Regions from separate parts of the Homo sapiens genome. Here regions 2, 3, 4, 5, 6 and 7 are each linked to region 1. The links are contacts of gene promoters, found by promoter capture Hi-C in blood cells and fetal thymus (Javierre and others, 2016). All regions are on one chromosome and are shown on one strand. Each heading gives the region's core, a stretch centred on a gene start or on the middle of the fragment in contact. The rest is flanking DNA. Distances are from core to core; before and after follow the strand shown. Region 1 holds the start of ALG14-AS1 (ALG14 antisense RNA 1). Region 2 overlaps ABCD3 (ATP binding cassette subfamily D member 3). Region 3 overlaps ABCD3 (ATP binding cassette subfamily D member 3). Region 4 overlaps ABCD3 (ATP binding cassette subfamily D member 3). Region 5 overlaps F3 (coagulation factor III, tissue factor). Region 6 overlaps ABCD3 (ATP binding cassette subfamily D member 3). Region 7 has its middle 14 kb from the start of ABCD3.

Region 1 (2,700 bases), core at 135-2,634:
CACGCTATCTCCCTCAACAGCTCATTTGCATCTCTGCAGAGCTCTTCCCAGCTTCAGATTCATGAGTAGAGGCTCTTTTAGGAATGGAGCAGAATTTTCTCTCTAACAGTGGCTGCATTGCCCCAGTAGGCGACTGTTAGTAAAAGGAAGTTGAACAGAGATGCTTAGTCCTACATTGCACTTCGAAAATACAAAATAATGGCACTATAAAAATCCAAAATCTGGCTGGGCACAGTGGCTCACGCCTGTAATCCCAGCACTTTGGAAGGCTGAGGTGGGCAGATCACGAGGTCAGGAGATCGAGACCATCCTGGCCAACATGGTGAAACCCTGTCTCTATTAAAAAAAAAAAAAAATAGCCAGACATGATAGTAGGCACCTGTACTCCCAGCTACTCAGGAGGCTGAGGCAGGAGAATCGCTTGAACCTGGGAGGTGGAGACTACAGTGAGCTGAGATCACACGACTGCACTCCAGCCTGGGTGACAAAGTGAGACTCTGTTTAAAAAAAAAACAACAAATAAATAAAAATAAAAATCCAAAATATTTTTATAGTTAAGACTATTAATGTGAAGCAAACCCAACTTACTTGGTTCTAAGTGTTGTGATGCACAGTATATAACTACTGTCCCCCTAAAATTCATGTCCACCTGGAATCTATGAATGTGACCTTATTTAGAAATAAGAGCACTGCAGATATGATCAAGTTAAGATGAGGTCCTTCTGAATTAGAGTGGGCCCTAAATCCAACCGGTATCCTCATAAAAAAGGCATGTGAAGACAGAGATACAGAAAAGGTCATATGATGGTGGAAGCCGAGATTAGAGTGACGTAGCTGCAAGCTAAGGAAGGCCAAGCATTGCTGGCCACCACTAGAAGCCAGGAGGAAGCAAGGAGGGATTCTTCTTCAGAACCTCCGGAGGGAGTATGGCCCCATGACACCTTGATTTCAGACTTCTACCCTTCAGAGCTATGAGAAAATACATTTCTGTTATTTTAAGCCACCCAGTTTATGGGTGGCAAAAACCCAGTTTTGTTACAGCAACCCTAAGAAACTAATACAGTATTGATTCCTAAAACAAAAACGAAATCACTTTGGCTTATTTTCCACAGAGGAAAAAAAGTACCACACATTTTGCTATAGCTGAATGATAGCAAGCAGATTTATATACCAATCTTGTTTGACGTGGATTTTTTGAGAATACATTTTAGTAGTATGTTAGTTGGGGATAAGGTTTACAAATGACCAAAAGTTAACACAAACAGCCTTGAGAGAGAGAGAGAGAGAGAGTGTGCGTATGTCACAAAGGTGGGAACAAAGGGAGTGGGGTAGGGTTCTAGGAGTGGGTCCTGATTTCCCAAGAAAAGAACCACCAATCCAGGACCAACACAGCTATAGCAGGGCCTCTTGAGCCACTGAAGGCAGCACCAGACACTGGCTTCTCCTCTCTTCCTGTACATTATCTTCATTCTTCTATCTATAGACTACCTTTATCTTCTAAGTGAAAACATGACTGTCAGCAGCTTTCAAGCTTTATCATTTACAGAGCTTGCCTGAAGACAGACTGATTCCATTCTCTAGGTCTCCAAGCCCAGAAAGCTCAGAGAAAGACTTCGATTGGTCTGAGTTAGGCCAGCTGTCCACCCCTGAACTATCCAGAGCAGCCCTGCAGCTGGGCCGTTCCCAGAGAGAGGGATGGATAAAGGCACTCACTCTACATAAGGAACAGCTCTAGTTTCCTTCCTTAATTAAGAAGTAGTTTCACTTAAAAAAAAAAATCTCTAAACACTGACTAAAATGCTATAATGAAGTGAGCAACCAGGGGTAAAGAAGTACTAATAATTTCAAAGGCAGACACAAGTATGATTTGGAGAAGAAACAGCAGTCATAGATAAATCAAATTATCAATAAACGTAACACATTGATAGAGAGCTTTAATGAAGAGCCAATAAGCACATGAACAGGATGCTTCGTGTATGTAAGTAAAAATAAAATAATTTTCACTATTGGAATTCAACGAAAAACTGCTTTCTCTATTTAAAAGAATAAAAAATATGCAAAAAATTAAGCAACCATTTTTTTTCCTTCAACTTTTAAGTTCCAGGGTATGTGTGCAGGATGTGCAGGTTTATTACACAGGTAAACGTGTGCCATGGTGGTTTGCTGCACAAATTAATCCATTACCTAGGTATTAAGTCCAGCATCCACTAACTATTCTTCCTGATGCTCTACCTCCCCCAACCCCTCCCTTCAACAGGCCCCAATGTGTGTTGTTCCCCCATATGTACCCATGTATTCTCATTGTTCAGCTCCTACTTATAAGTGAAAACGTGTAGTATTTAGTTTTCTGTTCCTGCATTAGTTTGCTGAGGATAACGGCTTCTGGCTCCATCCATATCCCTGCAAAGGACATGATCTTGTTCCTTTTTATTGCTGCATAGTATTTCATAGTGTATATGTACCACATTTTCTTTATCCATTCTATCATTGATGGGCATTTGGGTTGATTCCATGTCTTTGCTATTGTGAATAGTGCTGCAGTGAACATATGTGTGCATGTATCTTTACAACAGAATGATTTACATTCCTTTGGGTATATACCCAGCAATGGGATTGCTAGGTCAAGTGGTATTTCTGCCTCTAGATTTCTGAGGAATCGCCACACTATCTTCCACAATGGTTGAACTAATTTACATTCCC
Region 2 (2,700 bases), core at 189-2,688, 590 kb before region 1:
GTTATAATTTTATTTCCAAGTTATCTTCTATATGGATGTTCATTTTTATAGCAATCATTCTTTTAAGTATGCAGTATTTTTTCACCTCTGAAGCTATTTAAGTTTTTAATGTGTTTTTAGCTCCCTGCATTTTTTGTTATTCTGTTGTCATTCACATTAGAGGCCTTCCTCAAGCATTCTGTGACTCTTGGCTGTGAATTCATATTTAAAAGTAAGTGCCTTAAACACTTACTAGAAGCTGGAGTTGAGAGCTTGTTAACTGGTCTCCCTTGAAGGGTGTTTGTAGGGGGACCCTAATCATGTGCACGTGTGTGTAGTACTCAGTTTTAAAATTTAATTATGAAATTTTAAAAAATTGTTTTTCATTTTTTGTATGAGTTTCTGAACCATTTTTTAAAACCATTATTTTGGTATACTTTACACTTACAGAAAAGTTGAAAAATAGAATAAGGGGCTGGGTGTGGTGGCTCATACCTGTAATCCCAACACTTTGGGAAGTTGAGTCAAGAGGATCACTTGAGGCCAAGAGTTCAAGACCAGCCTGGGCAACACAGTGAGACTTCGTCTTTACAAAATATAAAAAAGTTAGCTGGCTGTGGTGGCACATACCTACAGTCTCAATTACACGGGAGGCTGAGCAGAAGGATCACTTAAGCTTAGGGATATCCTGTCTCACAAAAAAAAAAAAAAAAAGATTAGCATAAGGAACTTCCTTATATTCTTAACCCACATTCACCAATTGTAAAACACTCATTTTAAAGTTGTTAACTTTCTCCTAAATAGTTTTGAGCCTCTGCTGTGTATGAAATTCTTTAATATTTGGACCTTATCTCAAAAAAAGTTTTAAAATATTGTACATTCGTACAGGATAATTTTATTTGAAAAGTTAACATATATCTCCATCTCAGTATTTAAGCTACAGTGCAAATTGATTTATTTATTTTCTCTTTTTGCCTTTTCTAAAGTAAGTCCAGATTCATGTATTTCTGCTAAAGAAAGCCTCAAAGAGACTTATTATGGTCCTTAATGTACTTCATTTTAATATCCTTTTCATATTTTAAGCTTATTTGTTGATGGTGACTAATGACTTTGGAGTATGGGCAAATCTTAATAGGAAAGACACCCTCTTTAAGGTAGAAACTATACTAATTCCATGACATGGAGGAAAATTCTTCATACCTTGTTGCTGCTTTATCTAATCATAAAAATATATTTTATTTTCACCCATTTGGCTACAAGCAGAATTTAAAAATTACCAAACTCTCTTTTATAAAGATTCTTAAACATTTGGAAGTTGTAGTGATTAGGGCTATTGTAAAATTGTTTTTTGTTAATTATTTTTTTTGCAGTGGAATAATAAGCAGAAATAAGGCTTTATTCAAGAAACCATTTTTTAAATTTATAGCTGCTACTCCAATGGTAAACCATTGCTGAATGATGGCATGTTCTTGTGTGTTTCACAGCTTGGGCAGCACTAAAGCACTTTGGTTTTAAGTAAGGTTTGGTTCAAACAATTTTAACATAAATTCTCTGAACCTTTTGTACTGTCTTGATTGCTTAATGTCTGTAATATTCTTATTGCTATAAACAACATTTTTGTGTGGTTCTATTTAACTTTCTTGTAGTTAGCGTTTTTTTTTTTTTTAACTGTTTTACTTTTTAGGGGCTATATAAACATTGGAGTATTAATTTCTCTTAATCAGTCTAAAGGAACATTTCCCAAAGTATGTTCTGTGGAATCTTGGCTATGATAGAGGAAATGTTTCATGCTACAAACCCCTCTCAGAGAGTTAAAATGCACATACTATACATTAAAAGCTTTGAGAAGGTCTTTGGTAAAGACATTTGTTAGATTTGTTTAACCTAGGATTTCCCAAATTTATCCATCTAGTCCCTCACAGAAAAGAAATTATTTCTCTAGTCATATACTAGTAATTTTTGTGTGTGCGTGGGCAGCTAGGTTTAAACCACTTAGTCCAGTGTTTAAATGTTTTATATAAATATGTCTTATGAAATTTGGGAACATTATTAAGTATTACTTGAAGTAAGAGTTCTGTGATCAAATACATACTATCTTTGTATTAGGTCATAGACATATCTTACTCAAAGATCCTTTACTTATATAATACTGCTTTGTTCAAATTTTTAATAAAGTTTTAGAACCCTTTTTAAAAATTTTTAATGTATATTTTAAAAGCAGAAAAATATGTAAAACAGATTAACAACAGGCAAAAGAGAAGCTAGTCTAGCTGAAGTGTGTTGAGGAACATGAAGCTTCTGTAGATCCATTCTGGGCTCTGATCTATGCGTTAGTCCCAGTATTGGCAAACTAGGACCCACAGGTCAAATCTCACTACCTGCCATCTGTTTTGGTAAAGTTTTATTAGAATACAGCCACACTTCTTGGCTGCTTTTGTTTTACAGTGGCAGAATTGAGTAGTTGCAGCGGAGCCCTTAGGGTGCACAAAGCCTAAAATATTTACTCTTGACCCTTTGCTGATCCCCATTAAGTCTGTCTCCCTGCCATTAGTTCACACAAATGAGAATCAGATTATTAAAATATTTTAAAACAAACAAATGGTACTTTGTTTATTCATAATAACCCATTCCTGGGACTATAAAGTTGTTAATTGTTATGCTAGCTTAGTTTCTTTTGTAGCCACTTAAGCCTTTTTTTAAAGCAGCCATTTTTACTAAGAA
Region 3 (2,700 bases), core at 180-2,679, 640 kb before region 1:
CTTTTTCTGATTTCCAAACTGATGTAAGTGTCCTCTGCTTTTATGATACTGTAGGCCAGGGGTCCCCAACCCCCGGGCTGTGGACTGGTACAGGTTGGTGGCCTGTTAGGACCCAGCTGCACAGCCTGTGCAAGCGAGCATTACCACTTGAGCTCCGCCTCCTGTCAGATCAGCAGGGGCATTAGATTCTCATAGGAGCGTGAACCTGTTGTAAACTGCACATGTGAGGGATCTAGGTTGCACACTTCTTATGAGAATCTAATGCCTGATGATGTGAGGCAAAACAGTTTCATCCTGAAACCATCCCCCAACTCAACCCCAATTTGTGGAAAAATCGTGTTCCGCAAAACTGGTCCCTGGTGCCAAAAAGGTTGGAGACTACTGCTCTAGGTATCCCCTACTCTAGCACTTACCATTCTGTATTGTACTAGTTTGTTTTCTTGGCTTTTGCCTACATCAGATCCTGAGTTTCTTGAGGGCATGAACTGAGTCATCTTTAATTCCCTAGTTCGGCTCTGTCATGGGTTAGACAGTGTTTATAGAGAGGATAAATGACATAGGATAGTTGAAGAACTTTTAAGCGTAATTGACAGGCATTTGGAGATGCCTAGTACAAACATGAATAGAAACATTCTTTTTGCAGAAGTAATAGTTGTGTACCTGAGCATATATAACCTGACCTGGGTAGTGGGAAATCAGTGGGCCAATTTTAGAAGGCAGGGAATGGTACCAGTCTGTATAGCCATAGTATTTTATTATCTTTAAAAAACAGAACAGAACAAAGCAGTTTCTTTCGCTTCTTATCAATGCTTGTCAAATAGAGTTCGGATTTCTCATCTTGGATTTCAGAGCCTCCCTCAATCTGGTCTTACTTTACCTGGCTAATCTTATATGCCATTGCCTGCCAATGGGTACTCTCTGTTCCAAATAGGACAGTTTCTACACTGTTCTTTGAACAGGCCACACTCATTTTTGGCTTTGGAGCTTTATTCATGCTGTTACTCATACCTAGAATATCTTTCTATGATATCCCTGTTCTCCAACTCTTGTCATCCTTGAAGGGTTAGGTCAGGGTCACCCTATCCATGAAGTGTTATTTAACTACTCCAGATGATCTAAATGATGATCACCTCTTTTAAAATTTCTGAAGCATGCATTTAAATACCTTTATTGTTTTATCTATTCATTGCTTGACTGGTTATAATCTAGCTAGGTCTACCAAAGTCCACCTGCTTATGGGGTGAGTTTCCTGCTTTTAAAAGCCCCCCTCTGTAAATGGTGGGAACACAGTTTCCTCTCCTAAATATTTCTCAGGAATTTCAGGGAGCTTGTGTTTCTTTTAGTGACATCTTACTTCGCTTCCTTTGGAGCACTTTCTGCTCTATTTTAGAAGGTACTTACATCTTGTCTCTTGAGCCTGTCTCTTTGGCGTCTGCCTTGATTTCTCTAAAGAATCAATCACAAAGCAGATATTTATAGTAGGGCTTTATTGAAAATTTGGGAGGAGTGGTAGGGATTATATCCCAGCATAGTGAACAGCTTAAAATGCTTTTATTTAGAAGTTTTTTGGACATTCCCACTGCTGGAAATTTCTTGACTTTTTTTTTTGTCCTGAGTCTCAGCCCTGTTGCCTGCTGCTGGGCCTTTCTTTACCCATTGGGTGTCCTTATATCTCCAGCTTCTTACTCCCTGCACTACGTTACTGCTAACCCCTCTACAACTTTCCTGCAAACTTCAAAATTCAGCTTTCCTTCCTTAAATCTGCCCCATTCAAATCAAGCTCTAGAAGGGGCTGGCTTCACTTTTCTCAGTTTCACAGGCGCACTGGGTGTTTTGCAAAGTGCAAGCATGAATCATGTGAGGGGCTAGAGCGGCTTGAGACCCTTACAGTTACCCATGAGTAGATGTTATATGGCCCCGTTTGGATCCTCAAAATAAAAAAGAGATGCTTAAGCAACCTTGGATGGAAAAAAAAGCATTGAAGAATTTGCCAGCCAAAGTAGCTGTGTACTGAACCCAACTGAGGCAGATCAGGCCCAGAGCAGTGTTCTGAGAACTGTGTAGCTGTCTGTGGTCTGCTAGGGGGAACTGAGTACAGGTTGTTTAATTAATTATATGTCCCAGTTACTGGCACATTCACATCCTTGGGTAGGCATTCTATTTCAAGGCTTTTGCTCTTGCTGTTTCCCCTGCCTGAAGTGCTCTTTCCTCAGATACTCACATTGCTTACTCTCCCCACTCTTTCAGTCTTTTTTCAGACATCCTTTTAGTGAGACCTTCTATTGCCATTCGATTTATTTTTATTTATTTATTTATTTTGAGACGGGGTCTCACTCTCTCACCCATGCTGGAGTGTAATGGCACCATCTTGGATCATTGCAACCTTTGCCACCCAGGCTCAAACAGTCCTCCTACCTCAGCCTCCCAAGTAGCTAGGACTACAGCCACACGTCACCACACCTGGCTAATATTTTTTGTAGAGACAAGGTCACGTTATGTTGCCCAGGCTGGTCTCGAACTCCTAGGCTCAAGCGATTCTCCCACCTCAGACTCCCAAAGTGCTGGGATTACAGGCAAGAGCCACTGTGCCTGGCCCCTGCCACTCAAAATAGCATCCTGTCTACCTTCCAGACTTTACTTTTCTCCTTAGCACTTATCACTATAAAATATGCTATATATTTTACATATTTATCTTGTCTG
Region 4 (2,700 bases), core at 135-2,634, 570 kb before region 1:
TACATTAGCACTCAGTTCAGATTGGGTGTAATACAATTCTTAGATAAAGCACAGACCATGTGTCTCCACTGAAAGCAAAGCATTCAGTGCCAATCCGGACAGCTAGTGTTTCACTCAAACTAGTTAATCTCTGTTCTTTTTGCTTTCGTTGTTGTCCTCTTTTGGGATATGTGTATCCAAAAGCATGGTGACTACAATAGCATTGTGCTATTGCATGCAAGAGAAACAGCATTGTTAAAATTGTTTATGTAATTTCCATGCTGTTTGCATAAAAATGGTTTCATGAAGTGTTTGTTTGGCACCCGCTCTGTGAAGAGCATTGTCCTCGGTGGTGTGATGTACAATATAAACAGAATATAAACAGAAATCACGGGCACTCAGTAAATATTTGTTGAATAAATGAACTATACAGTTTGTTTTATCCTTATAGTAGATTCAGTTTTTTATACAGAGAAAAAGATGGTTTTTTGTTTTTGTTTTCTGCCAGGTGGAACACCTACATAATTTCATTTTGTTTCGGTTTTCAATGGGCTTCATTGATAGTATTATTGCCAAATGTAAGTATATTTTGAAAGAGATGAGATTTGTGGAAAAGGTGAAATACTGTTACTGTTTTAAATCTTACCTGTTTGGTTTCAGACCTTGCCACTGTTGTTGGTTACCTAGTTGTCAGTCGCCCTTTCTTAGATTTGTCTCATCCTCGACATCTCAAGAGTACACATTCGGAACTTCTAGAGGTAAACTGATGATAATACAATGAAAATGTAACAGTAAAAATAAAGCCAAATTTTTAGTCATAGAACTATAAGTAAAAACTAATATTTATTTCTATTTAAGGATTACTACCAAAGTGGAAGAATGCTTTTGCGAATGTCTCAAGCTCTGGGTCGAATAGTTTTGGCTGGGCGTGAAATGACTAGATTGGCCGGGTAAGATTAGTAATAATGAGCTGTTGCAGAAAATAATTTTTAAAAATATATTATCCTTAATGATTGTATCAGTTGAGATTAAGATAAGGGGTCAACATTTCCTAGCCCAGGAAGGTGGTTTTGATAGAAAATTAAGGAAGATTTTTCTGATGGTGAACTTTTCATGTTTCTTGAGGACAGCTGGTTTGCGCAGTACAGTAGATTAGAGGCTGTCAAGTTGTTTGCTCCATGGACACGTATTTGCTAAGTTGGGAAATGTTGAATCATGGCAGTCTTAATTCACAGAAAACTATGTTTATGAATAGAATTTTCTCATTTAAATTTTCTTGTCCTCTACCATACCTTTTTTTCTTGGATCTTAGATACCGGCAACCTAGCAAAACAGATGAATAGAAATGAAGTTGACTTTAATGGGAAAAAAAATGAGATGTTATCTTGTATCTGTAGGCGTGCTTGTGAATGTAGTCATATTATCTAGTAGTAAAATTATCTTTAGACAGTAGAATGAAATTAAATATTAAGATTTCAGTATTTCAATCTCCAATATAAAGGGCATGGTATGGTGTAAAAAACACCATAAATTTTAGGTCACCTGAAGAAGTTTGATGACTGAATATCTTTCCTAGGCCTGTGATCCATCTTCATATTTCTCTTTTTCCTCCTTCTTAGCTCCTGTGGCAGTTATGGTCTTCATGCAATATAGAAGTTGTTAACTACTATGAGTAGAGTCTCTTTCATGAGAATACTAACATTCTTCCTACTTGTTAACTTTTCTTATGGCTTTACAGTTCATGGTATATAAGGTGCTTCTGTTCCTTTAGGGTGTTTCCTTTCACTCTCTCTCTCTCTCTCGCTCTCTTTCTGTGTGGGTGTGTGTGTCTTTCTCTTTCACTCCCTCCCTTCGTCTCCCTGCCCCCCTTTCTTTCTCTTTTTTCCACTTTGTTGAGGTATGATTGACATATAAGAAACTGTTCATATTTAGTGTATACAATTTGATGAATATGGGAATAAGTTATACACGTGTGAAACCATCAAGACCATAAACATTCATCACCTCCCAAAGTTTGCTTTAGGAGGTTTCTGCTTTTTATTCAGAGAAAAATCCTGTTTTCTTCTTCGATGCAGAATACTTTCTCTTTGGCGATCATGGTCATTTTTGTTATCTCCAACCTCTTGTCGTTAGTTTTGATTTTTCTCTATTGCCACAGTGATTTCTATCTAATAATAAGAACTCATCATCTTTCCCCTCTTCAGAGTAAGAAAGAGGGAATCTTTCAGATTCTTCCGTTTGCAGGAAGGCAGCATGCATTCGGCATACATTTAATAAATGCCTTCCTTGGATAGAAAGACCAGCTTTATACATGGCTTTATAGGTCACTTCAGCAAGAGATCAGAGTCCATACTTCCTGGGTCTAAGGAATATACTAGTAGTGGTCCTTTTGTAGTATCCAAGAGAAACCTCCTGAAAATTCTCAGCAAATAACTGCCTTGACTTGGCTATTAATGAAGTATCTGTTGAGTTGGGGATCCTATGGAAACCTCTTCCTTCATCCCTATATTCCTGCTCTCCTACTGAAACATAATAAAGCACACATGTTATCATTAATACTTTATGTTGATGAGACTGTTAGGTTACTTCATTTATACTAAATTATAATTTTAGGAACTTCAGTTTGTATAAAATAAAAGATGTGACAATAGTCTGGAGTTTTGATTATGGTTTCCTTTTCTAAAATTTTAGTTTTACTGCTCGGATTACAGAATTAATGCA
Region 5 (2,700 bases), core at 187-2,686, 520 kb before region 1:
AAGTCTCCTAGGGCTTTCTATGTAACATAGAGATACAGTATTTGGTTCCTCCCAGCTCACAGCAGGGACCACATACTCTATAGCAAAATTTAGCACAAGGATTTATACAGTACCCTGGTAAGTAGTAAAACTGTATAAACAGGTAATGAAGGGACAATTCTGTAGAAAATCCCTCTGAATGCCATTAATAGCATTAACACTTTAAAAGCCTCCAAGGTTCCTCCAGGCATTGCAAAACCCTCTGATTTGGAATTTTGAGTTAACTAAAAAATTCAGTCACTAATTTGGTTGCAGGTTGTTTTCCAGAAGCTTTGTAAATTCAGCTTTAGAATTCAGAACATTTCCATGGAATGAATATCACCGGTGACGGTTTGTGCTAAGGCTTAAGCCAATAACATTTCCCAACCACCACTGAAAACTGTTAGCAAAGGTGAAAAATGCAGTTGGAGTTCCAAGTAGGGGCTTCTGCACAGCAGTAGTGTCCTGCGGCTGGAGCCAGGCTGCAGTAGTGAGAGCAGTCGGGAGGGAAGAGGGGCAGCTGCTTAAGATGCTAACTGTAGGGAGGGAAAACAGGCAGAGAGGAAGGCCAACTGAGGAGATGCAGTGGGCAAGACTTTCCTTCTTCCTCCCGCTTTGGAGCCTCCCATCAGACTGTGGCAGAGCCACCTGAGGGATGGTGGTGTGTGGATACTGGGTAGACTTTGGTTCCAGACCTGACATGGGCACTCACCATCAGTGTAGTCATGAATAAATCCCTCACTTCTCAGAGCAACAGTTTCCTCAACTGTAAAATGACTGCTCTGGTCCTTTTTAACCAGGAATCTCATTTATTCCTGGGGTGGGCAGGAGAAGAGTGCACACCTCAGGCCGAGGCTGATGGAAAAGCTCCCAGGCCCTCCAGTACAGCAGCAAGAGATTGTTCAGTCCATAGGACCACCCTGAGTCGGCTGGCATCCCCCAAGCTGTAGCCCTGCGCTCTGCTGTTTGCAGATCAGGAGCTGTGCTCATTTAAATAACAGCAGCCTTATAAAGTTCAAGAACTTACAGTTAACAAAGGCTTATGTTTAAAAAGCAGATGAATCATAAATATATTCCCATGTGTCCCTCAAATATTAGATTGAATATATTTAGGAGGTAAGCATTCCTCCCAAAATCTAATTTTTACCATATGGAAGTAAAGTGTTTACTAAGGTAAACTTCAGGCCTGTATCAGAGAAATTACTTACTAATTCTCAATTGGTGAAATCTGAATTGACAAGTTTGACCAGAACTGTAATCATTATTTCATGTTATGAAATTCCTTCATCTTTCTCTCCCCCCACCCCCATACATATCCACACATGCATGCACGTATGCATGCAAGTTCTCCTTGCTGGTTTGGCAACTACTGTCATGAAGTTCATTTTGAAAAACAAGAACATTCACTTAAAAGATGCATCGTTATCTAGAAGTTGCATTCCTAATGCTGTAAAAGGCCTGGCACAAGCTAAAACAAAACAGAACAGCAAAATACCTTTTGTTTTAGCTAGTGCTACTTTTGTACTTTTATGTAATTAGCATTAAAATAATTTCCACAGCAGCTATTCTCTATTTCATAAGATCTCTACCAAGCCTCCTAGAACATTTCAAAAACCAAAAACTTGCCAAGAATATGGTGAAAACCATCAAGGAAGTCATAACCTTTAGATTGAACATGCTGAATTATCGCCTCCTGGGGACAGCTGCCAGTCAGAGTTGAGGCACCAAGAAGCAGAGCCACACCAGACCCAGAGGGTGCAGACAGCAGAGTATTTCTGCTCTGCCAGGCTCAGTGAGTCACGCATTTGGCCTCCTCCACTAAGATCATGTATTCTACCAGATTTCGATTCATGGAGTCCAAAGATGAATGAATCAAACACTGCTTAAGGGCAATGTATACATTGGGATTCCTCCCCACCTCTTCCCTAAGGTGTTAGACATTGTTCACAGTCTAGACAGCAACAGAAAAAGACATCAATGTTTAGATGAGATTAATTAATCTATCATGACCCAAAGCACACTTCAGTGCCTACTCAAGATGGTTCATCTCTCCACAGTTTATACTCCACTTAGGAACTCTCCCATCATTTCCAAAAACAATTAAAACAATTAAAATGTTCTATCAGTTTAAGGTCTGGAAATGTTGCAGGCCTAATAGAGTATGACACCGGCCAGCGAATTGCCAAGAATCCCTTCTTCTTCGTCATCTGTTAAATAATTTCATCCAGTAATCAGCTTTAAAGACATTCTTGTTCAGCATAGGACAGTAGAAACATCAAAGACCTTAATTTTCTTTTTCTGTACCCAGCTTACCTTATTTGAACAGTGTAGACTTGATTGACGGGTTTGGGTTCCCACTCCAAAATTGTCTTGAAATTAGTTGATTTCCAAGTTAAATTATATGCTGCCACAGTATTTGTAGTGCCTTTAAACAACAGAGAAACAGCTATTATTACATGCACTTCAGAGCACTCGAATGTATTGATGTATAAAACACCTTCCCACCTGACATCACCATAAACCTCACTTTTTATTTTTCAACCACAAAAGCTTCATTAGTGAATTATCAAGAGAAAAAGAATCTTCAAATTTTTTCTAGACCTAGAATTTCTTCATGACAAGATTCACCTTGTAATCCCAGGACACCGGCAAGGATCTTGACATTTTCGTTTGAAATTATTC
Region 6 (2,700 bases), core at 16-2,515, 550 kb before region 1:
TAATATCTTAAATGAGCTCTGAAAAATCAGAAAAGTGTGGTATGGTTGAAATATATGTTTTATTAATACTGATAATATGCTTATTTTATTATGCAATTCCTAACCAATTTAAGAACCTTTTTACAGTGCAGCCAAACTTATTACACATTAGAAGTTTTATTTTATATCACTTTGGCAATCAGAGGTGTAGATACAAACCGAGGAACTTGAATCTCATGGTAAAAATGATCTAGAATATACTTATAATGATCTTTTAAAAATTATCATCAAAATGAAAATAAAATTAAGAAACCATGGTGGAAATTTCCCAGATGCCCTAAGCATGCATTTGCCAGCCTTGAGTGATCCACTTGGAGGAACAGTGACCCAGAGTGGGGTTTCTCAGTCCTGGCACTATTGACCTTTTCACTGTTAATTCCTAGTTGGGCAGGGTTGAGGGTTGCTGTGCACTGGAGGATGTTTAGAAAGCATCCCTGGCCTCTGCCCATTAGATGGCAGTAGTGCTTTCAGTTGTGAAAATAAAAATGCCTCCAGTCATTGCCAAATGTCCCCCTGAGGGACAAATATCACTGACCTCCCCACCTTGGTTGAGAACCACTGATCTAGAGCAACTACAGCTATTATCTATTAATGTTTTTTTTTTTTTGAAAATCTGAAGTACAGATCTATAAATACGTATTCACAATCTGAAATCCAGAAAGTGCTTAAATTTAAAACATTTTTCATAATTTTGTAGCAAGCTCACTGGGTAAAACTTCGCCTAAGCTAACAAAAGATATTTAAACTCTATATGTCTCAATATCAGTGTCCATGTGTGTTGCTACAGAAACATTTATGTGTTTAATTATAAAATTCTGCCTCAGAACTCTCTGGGGGTGTTAAATAATACATTTTCAAAATCTGAATTCCAAGACACATTCCAAAACAGTAGTTTACGGTAGGGGATTATGACCCTGTATTTGAAAAGCAAGTTGACTGTCAACAATGCTATACTGATTTAATTTTTCCTGATTTTGACCTTTGGCTATTTTTATCCTTCTCATATTCCTCTCATATATTTTTCACAATAAAATAGGAGACATGATAGGAGATATGTTTTTTGCCCAAAAGAAAATAATACACTTAATGCCAGTACCTGGTAGTTTTTATTATGTGGTTGATGGCCAGTACTTTCCATTGCTATAAACATTTTGCATCCAGTTGTAAATTTTTTCTCATTGACATTGCTTTTTAACTTTAGTCACTGAAGACTGTCCTCTTAACAGCTTAAAGTACATGGACTAGTTTAATTTGTGACTCTGTTACTCATTAAACCTAAATCATTTTCTTTGTATTAGGTTGGCATCACTCTCTTCACTGTGTCTCATAGGAAATCTCTTTGGAAACATCATGAGGTTTGTATTTCTTTCATTGAATGGTACAGTGAAATTTTATTTTCTTTAAAATATGAATTCAGGTTAATATGGTTTTAGATTTTATGGTTTGTATTCCCTTAAACATATGTCTTAAGGAGAAAAGGTGGTTTTGTTTTATAAAATAGGATTTTCTTAAATATTATAGTTGTCAGTTTTGAAAGCAATGGTGTAACAGTTTTTCTCCAGTTTTATAAGTGACTCTTATCTGTTAATAGTAACTGACTAAACTTTGCATAGTCTTATCACAAATATGGTGAAGTAAACTTTTCTTATCCAGCAGTGACAGAGGAGAAAAAGTCTTAAGAAGAATTAGATGGCAAAAAATTTAGGGACATTTTTAATAGAGGTCAGGACTACAAGGGGGAAGATTGAATAACATAAGCTATGTTTATCAATGTACTGTAGTAAGTAGGATTCATTAGATAGTCACTATAATTTACAAAGATATTCAAATGAGGCTTACATTGGTGCACGTGTATTACTTATTCTGGTGCTTCAGTAGTGCCATTCTCACTATGTCAGTTCTTTTCAACTCAATGTGAAATGCTCAAAACCTGAAAGTAAACCCAGTTTAATTCTCTTTATTTTCTTTCCTCCTCCCTCCCTCCCTCCCTTCCTTTCTTCCTTCCTTTCTTTTCTTCTTTCCTTTCTGTCTTTCCCCCTTCCCTCTTTCCTTTCTTCTCTTCTTTCCTTCTTTTCCTTCCTAAATGATATAGAAATTTTAGGTAAAAGCAAGGATTTGAGAAAAATTGGAATAATGGTAAAGGTGCCTTGTTCCACAAAATACATACCTGATTAAGGACCTTTTTTTGCCAGATACTGAGCTAAGTGTCATGAGGGATGCAAATTAATTACAGTTTTTACCTTCAAGAACTTTAGGATGTAGATGATAGTCTACAAGTGATAAAATGAAGAGCATAGGATTTGAAGTCAGAGAGCCTGGGTTCAGGCACCAAAGTTTCTAGCCTCAGTTGCTTCCTTTGTATAATGAAGTTATTGAGCCTTACCTTCCTATCTCTTAGATTACCATGAAAATTAGACAGGTAGCCTATATGAAAGTACTTAATAAAATTCAGTGAAATTCTATATAACTGTGTGACTTTTAAAGATAGCTTTTATTATTTTATGGCATATTATAACTTGTCAATTTTTCATGAACTGAGCAGGAAATTGAATAACTAGAAATCAAAGGCATTTAAAATATAGCCAAGCCTTTATGTTTTCTCGGAAGTTCATAAGTATTATAGCCATAGGACATTGAGAGGAATTGAGAGCATTTGGGTTT
Region 7 (2,700 bases), core at 178-2,677, 660 kb before region 1:
ATAATTTTCCAGCTTGCACTCCTCCCTTACCAGTTGGCCTTCGCATTTACCTGTAATCAAGAGACCTCTTTTCTCCACTATTATTTATTTGTCTGTTTATTGTAGATATGAACTCATTAATTTCTATTTCTTCAATGGCTTATAATTTATTACTGGACTTATTTTGGTGTACAAATTATCTCAGGTTTGGTCTGGAGGAGCCTTTTCAAGATGACTCCTGTGTTCCTGTGACATGCCCTCATGATTTTTTAATCAACTTTTTAATTTTCTGATATGACTAAATATTCATCTTATACCTACCCTGCTCCATCCCTGGAATTAGCCATTTCTTTGAGGAGCCCTTGTTCCTTTTAGTGGTAAATGGTGTTAAAAGACCAAGATCTAGGTATGAGGTATGATCATTGCTACCAGACTTTGTTTCTTGGTCTTTTCAGTGGACAGAACAAAGAAATATGTAAATGTATACACACTAGTATACAAATGTATACCTGTAAGTACATATACATGCATACTTATCACATATACACACATACACATACCACATACATATTTTACAAATTATACAATCACATCTGAGGTTTCCAGTTGCAATCCATCCCCCTCAGAATTCTTTTTGGTTTTCTCCTACTCCATAATTTTTTTGTCCCTTCTTCGTCAGTGATAACTCTAGATCCCAACAACATCAATACCTTTGCTCATTTGATCAATCCAAAATAAAATTCTTAAACAGTTTAAGAATTACTTTGCCCATAATACTAGAATAAACAAGTCTACTATAATGAGTTCAGGGTTCATGTGTAATTCTTCCTTATCCACAACCCTGCACAAGACTGAGGATGTATAGTCAAATATTATGTTCATAAGCTACATGGATTCCTTCCTTCTTTCCTCTCTTCCATCTTTGGCTCTCTTGTTTTTTCTCTCCAGTGTGGTTATGGTATTAATATGAAATAAAATCAGTTTCATTTGTTGTGGTTTGCTTTCAGTTTTTCATTTTTTCCTTCTTATTCTTATTCATTGAATTTCATTTCTGAATATGTAGAATGTAATCATGCTTCCAAGAGTCAAGCTTATGCAAAAAGATAGTCTCAGAGAAGTGTTACTCTTTTACATCCCTTCCATTCTATTTCTGCATCCCCTTGTAGGTCACAAATTTCATTGTTATCTGATTTTTCATCTAGTATTACTTTTCGCAAAGTTAAATAAATATATGTATATATCTTTATTTTCCCTTCTTTCATATGTTAAAGTTAGCATCCTTCATAAGCTCTTTTGCTTTTATAAAAAACTTAATTATACCTCCTGGAAATTATTTCATTTCAGTTCCTAGAAATCTTCCCTATTTTGAGGCGGAGGTTGCAATGAGCTGATATTGCGCCGCTGCACTGCAGCCTGGGTGACAGAGCGAGACCCATCTCGAAAAAAAAAAAAAGAAAAAAAAAAACAAACAGAAAAGAAATCTTCCCTATTATAGTTTGTGTAGCTGCATAGAACTCATTATGTGTATATACCAAAGATTAATTAGTGTCCTATACTTGAACAGTTGGTTTGTGTTCAATATTATGCTATTTCAAAATAATCTTGTGCATATTGCATTTTTGTATTTTTGGGTGTGTATCTACTTCCTAGTATATGTAAATTCCAAAAGGTAACACTCTAGGGTAAATGCCTGTATAGTTTTATATTTGAATCTGTGTAGCCAAATTCCCCTCAATTGCTTTTCATTCCTACCAGCAATGCATGAGGGTATTTATTTTCTCCATACCTTGCCACATAGTAACATTATCAAGCTTTTTTTTTTTTTTTTTGAGACGGAGTTTCACTCTTGTCGCCAAGGCTGGAGTGCAATGGCCCCATCTTGGCTCATCACAACCTCCGCCTACTGGGTTCAAGCAATTCTCCTGCCTCAGCCTCCCGAGTAGCTGGGGTTACAGGCATGCACGCCTGGCTAATTTTGTATTTTTAGTACAGACAGGGTTTCTCTATGTTGGTCAGGCTGGTCTTGAACTCCCCACCTCAGGTGATCCACCTGCCTCGGCCTCCCAAAGTACTGGGATTACAGGCATGAGACACCGCCATTATCAAGCTTTTGAATTTTTTTGCTAAAGTTGTGGGTGAGAAACTGACTTTAGTATAGTTTATCTTGCATTTCTTTATTAGGAGCGATGTTGAACATCTTCCAACGTGTTTAAAGACCAGCTTTTGTATCTCTTTTTGTAAATTGTCTGTTCTTGTCATTTGCCTATTTTTCTGTAGGATTTTTGGTCTTTTTCCTTAAGTTTTATAAGTTCTTTATCAGTTAGGGATACTGATTTTTTATTTGCAATGTAGGCTGCAAATGTTTTCTTCTAGTTTGTTGTTTGCCTTTTGACTTTGCTTATGGTTTTTGGCATGCCAAAGTTTAGAAATTTTTAAAAATTATATTTATCAATTTTTTCTTTTAGTGCATTTGAATTTTTAGTAACAGAAAACCTTTTCTGATATCTAGATTACAGAGGTATTTACCCATGTTTTCTTGTTGTACTTGTGTAATTTTATTTTCCACATTTATATCTGTGATCCATGTGGAGTTTATTCCTGTGTATGGTCTGAGGAAGGAATTTAACTTTTTTTCAAATGGTTATCCAGCGATCTCAACACCATTTATTAAAAAAAAAAACAACTATATTTGCCTGAGTGAGAAGGGATATTACCTTTATC

Evidence for each region. The method cuts DNA at HindIII sites, captures the fragments that hold promoters and counts their contacts. A CHiCAGO score of 5 or more calls a contact.
Region 2: a fragment that was not itself captured here is called in contact with the fragment with the promoter of ALG14-AS1 in region 1 in 3 of 17 cell types (erythroblasts, total CD4 T cells and fetal thymus); the score reaches 5.8 in erythroblasts.
Region 3: a fragment that was not itself captured here is called in contact with the fragment with the promoter of ALG14-AS1 in region 1 in 3 of 17 cell types (naive CD8 T cells, total B cells and total CD8 T cells); the score reaches 7.0 in naive CD8 T cells.
Region 4: a contact is called between a fragment that was not itself captured here and the fragment with the promoter of ALG14-AS1 in region 1, in 6 of 17 cell types (total B cells, M1 macrophages, fetal thymus and 3 more). The highest score is 6.8, in total B cells.
Region 5: a contact is called between a fragment that was not itself captured here and the fragment with the promoter of ALG14-AS1 in region 1, in 1 of 17 cell types (endothelial precursors). The highest score is 7.1, in endothelial precursors.
Region 6: a fragment that was not itself captured here is called in contact with the fragment with the promoter of ALG14-AS1 in region 1 in 2 of 17 cell types (endothelial precursors and erythroblasts); the score reaches 7.1 in endothelial precursors.
Region 7: a contact is called between a fragment that was not itself captured here and the fragment with the promoter of ALG14-AS1 in region 1, in 1 of 17 cell types (total CD4 T cells). The highest score is 5.8, in total CD4 T cells.

Annotation. Positions count from the first base shown.
Region 1 is chr1:95,060,212-95,062,911 of GRCh38, forward strand. ALG14-AS1 (ALG14 antisense RNA 1) reads left to right here and starts at 1,385. Exons shown (of 2, transcript NR_132786.1): 1 at 1,385-1,978. The region is part of intron 2 of ALG14 (ALG14 UDP-N-acetylglucosaminyltransferase subunit); the gene reads right to left. The HindIII fragment of the contact is 7,319 bases long and covers 1-1,529 here.
Region 2 is chr1:94,470,824-94,473,523 of GRCh38, forward strand. All of the region lies in intron 4 of ABCD3 (ATP binding cassette subfamily D member 3), which reads left to right. Among named protein-coding and RNA genes, the nearest start is that of ABCD3, 54 kb to the left of the region's middle. The HindIII fragment of the contact is 756 bases long and covers 1,061-1,816 here.
Region 3 is chr1:94,422,122-94,424,821 of GRCh38, forward strand. All of the region lies in intron 1 of ABCD3 (ATP binding cassette subfamily D member 3), which reads left to right. Among named protein-coding and RNA genes, the nearest start is that of ABCD3, 5.1 kb to the left of the region's middle. The HindIII fragment of the contact is 5,695 bases long and covers 1-2,700 here.
Region 4 is chr1:94,487,055-94,489,754 of GRCh38, forward strand. ABCD3 (ATP binding cassette subfamily D member 3) reads left to right here. Exons shown (of 23, transcript NM_002858.4): 11 at 488-557; 12 at 640-737; 13 at 838-929; 14 at 2,671-2,700. Among named protein-coding and RNA genes, the nearest start is that of F3, 53 kb to the right of the region's middle. The HindIII fragment of the contact is 5,668 bases long and covers 1-2,700 here.
Region 5 is chr1:94,537,926-94,540,625 of GRCh38, forward strand. F3 (coagulation factor III, tissue factor) reads right to left here. Exons shown (of 6, transcript NM_001993.5): 2 at 2,332-2,443. Among named protein-coding and RNA genes, the nearest start is that of F3, 2.5 kb to the right of the region's middle. The HindIII fragment of the contact is 2,259 bases long and covers 308-2,566 here.
Region 6 is chr1:94,513,809-94,516,508 of GRCh38, forward strand. It overlaps ABCD3 (ATP binding cassette subfamily D member 3), which reads left to right. Exons shown (of 23, transcript NM_002858.4): 22 at 1,338-1,394. Among named protein-coding and RNA genes, the nearest start is that of F3, 27 kb to the right of the region's middle. The HindIII fragment of the contact is 3,154 bases long and covers 1-2,700 here.
Region 7 is chr1:94,403,520-94,406,219 of GRCh38, forward strand. It overlaps a transcript of ABCD3 not described here. Among named protein-coding and RNA genes, the nearest start is that of ABCD3, 14 kb to the right of the region's middle. The HindIII fragment of the contact is 721 bases long and covers 1,068-1,788 here.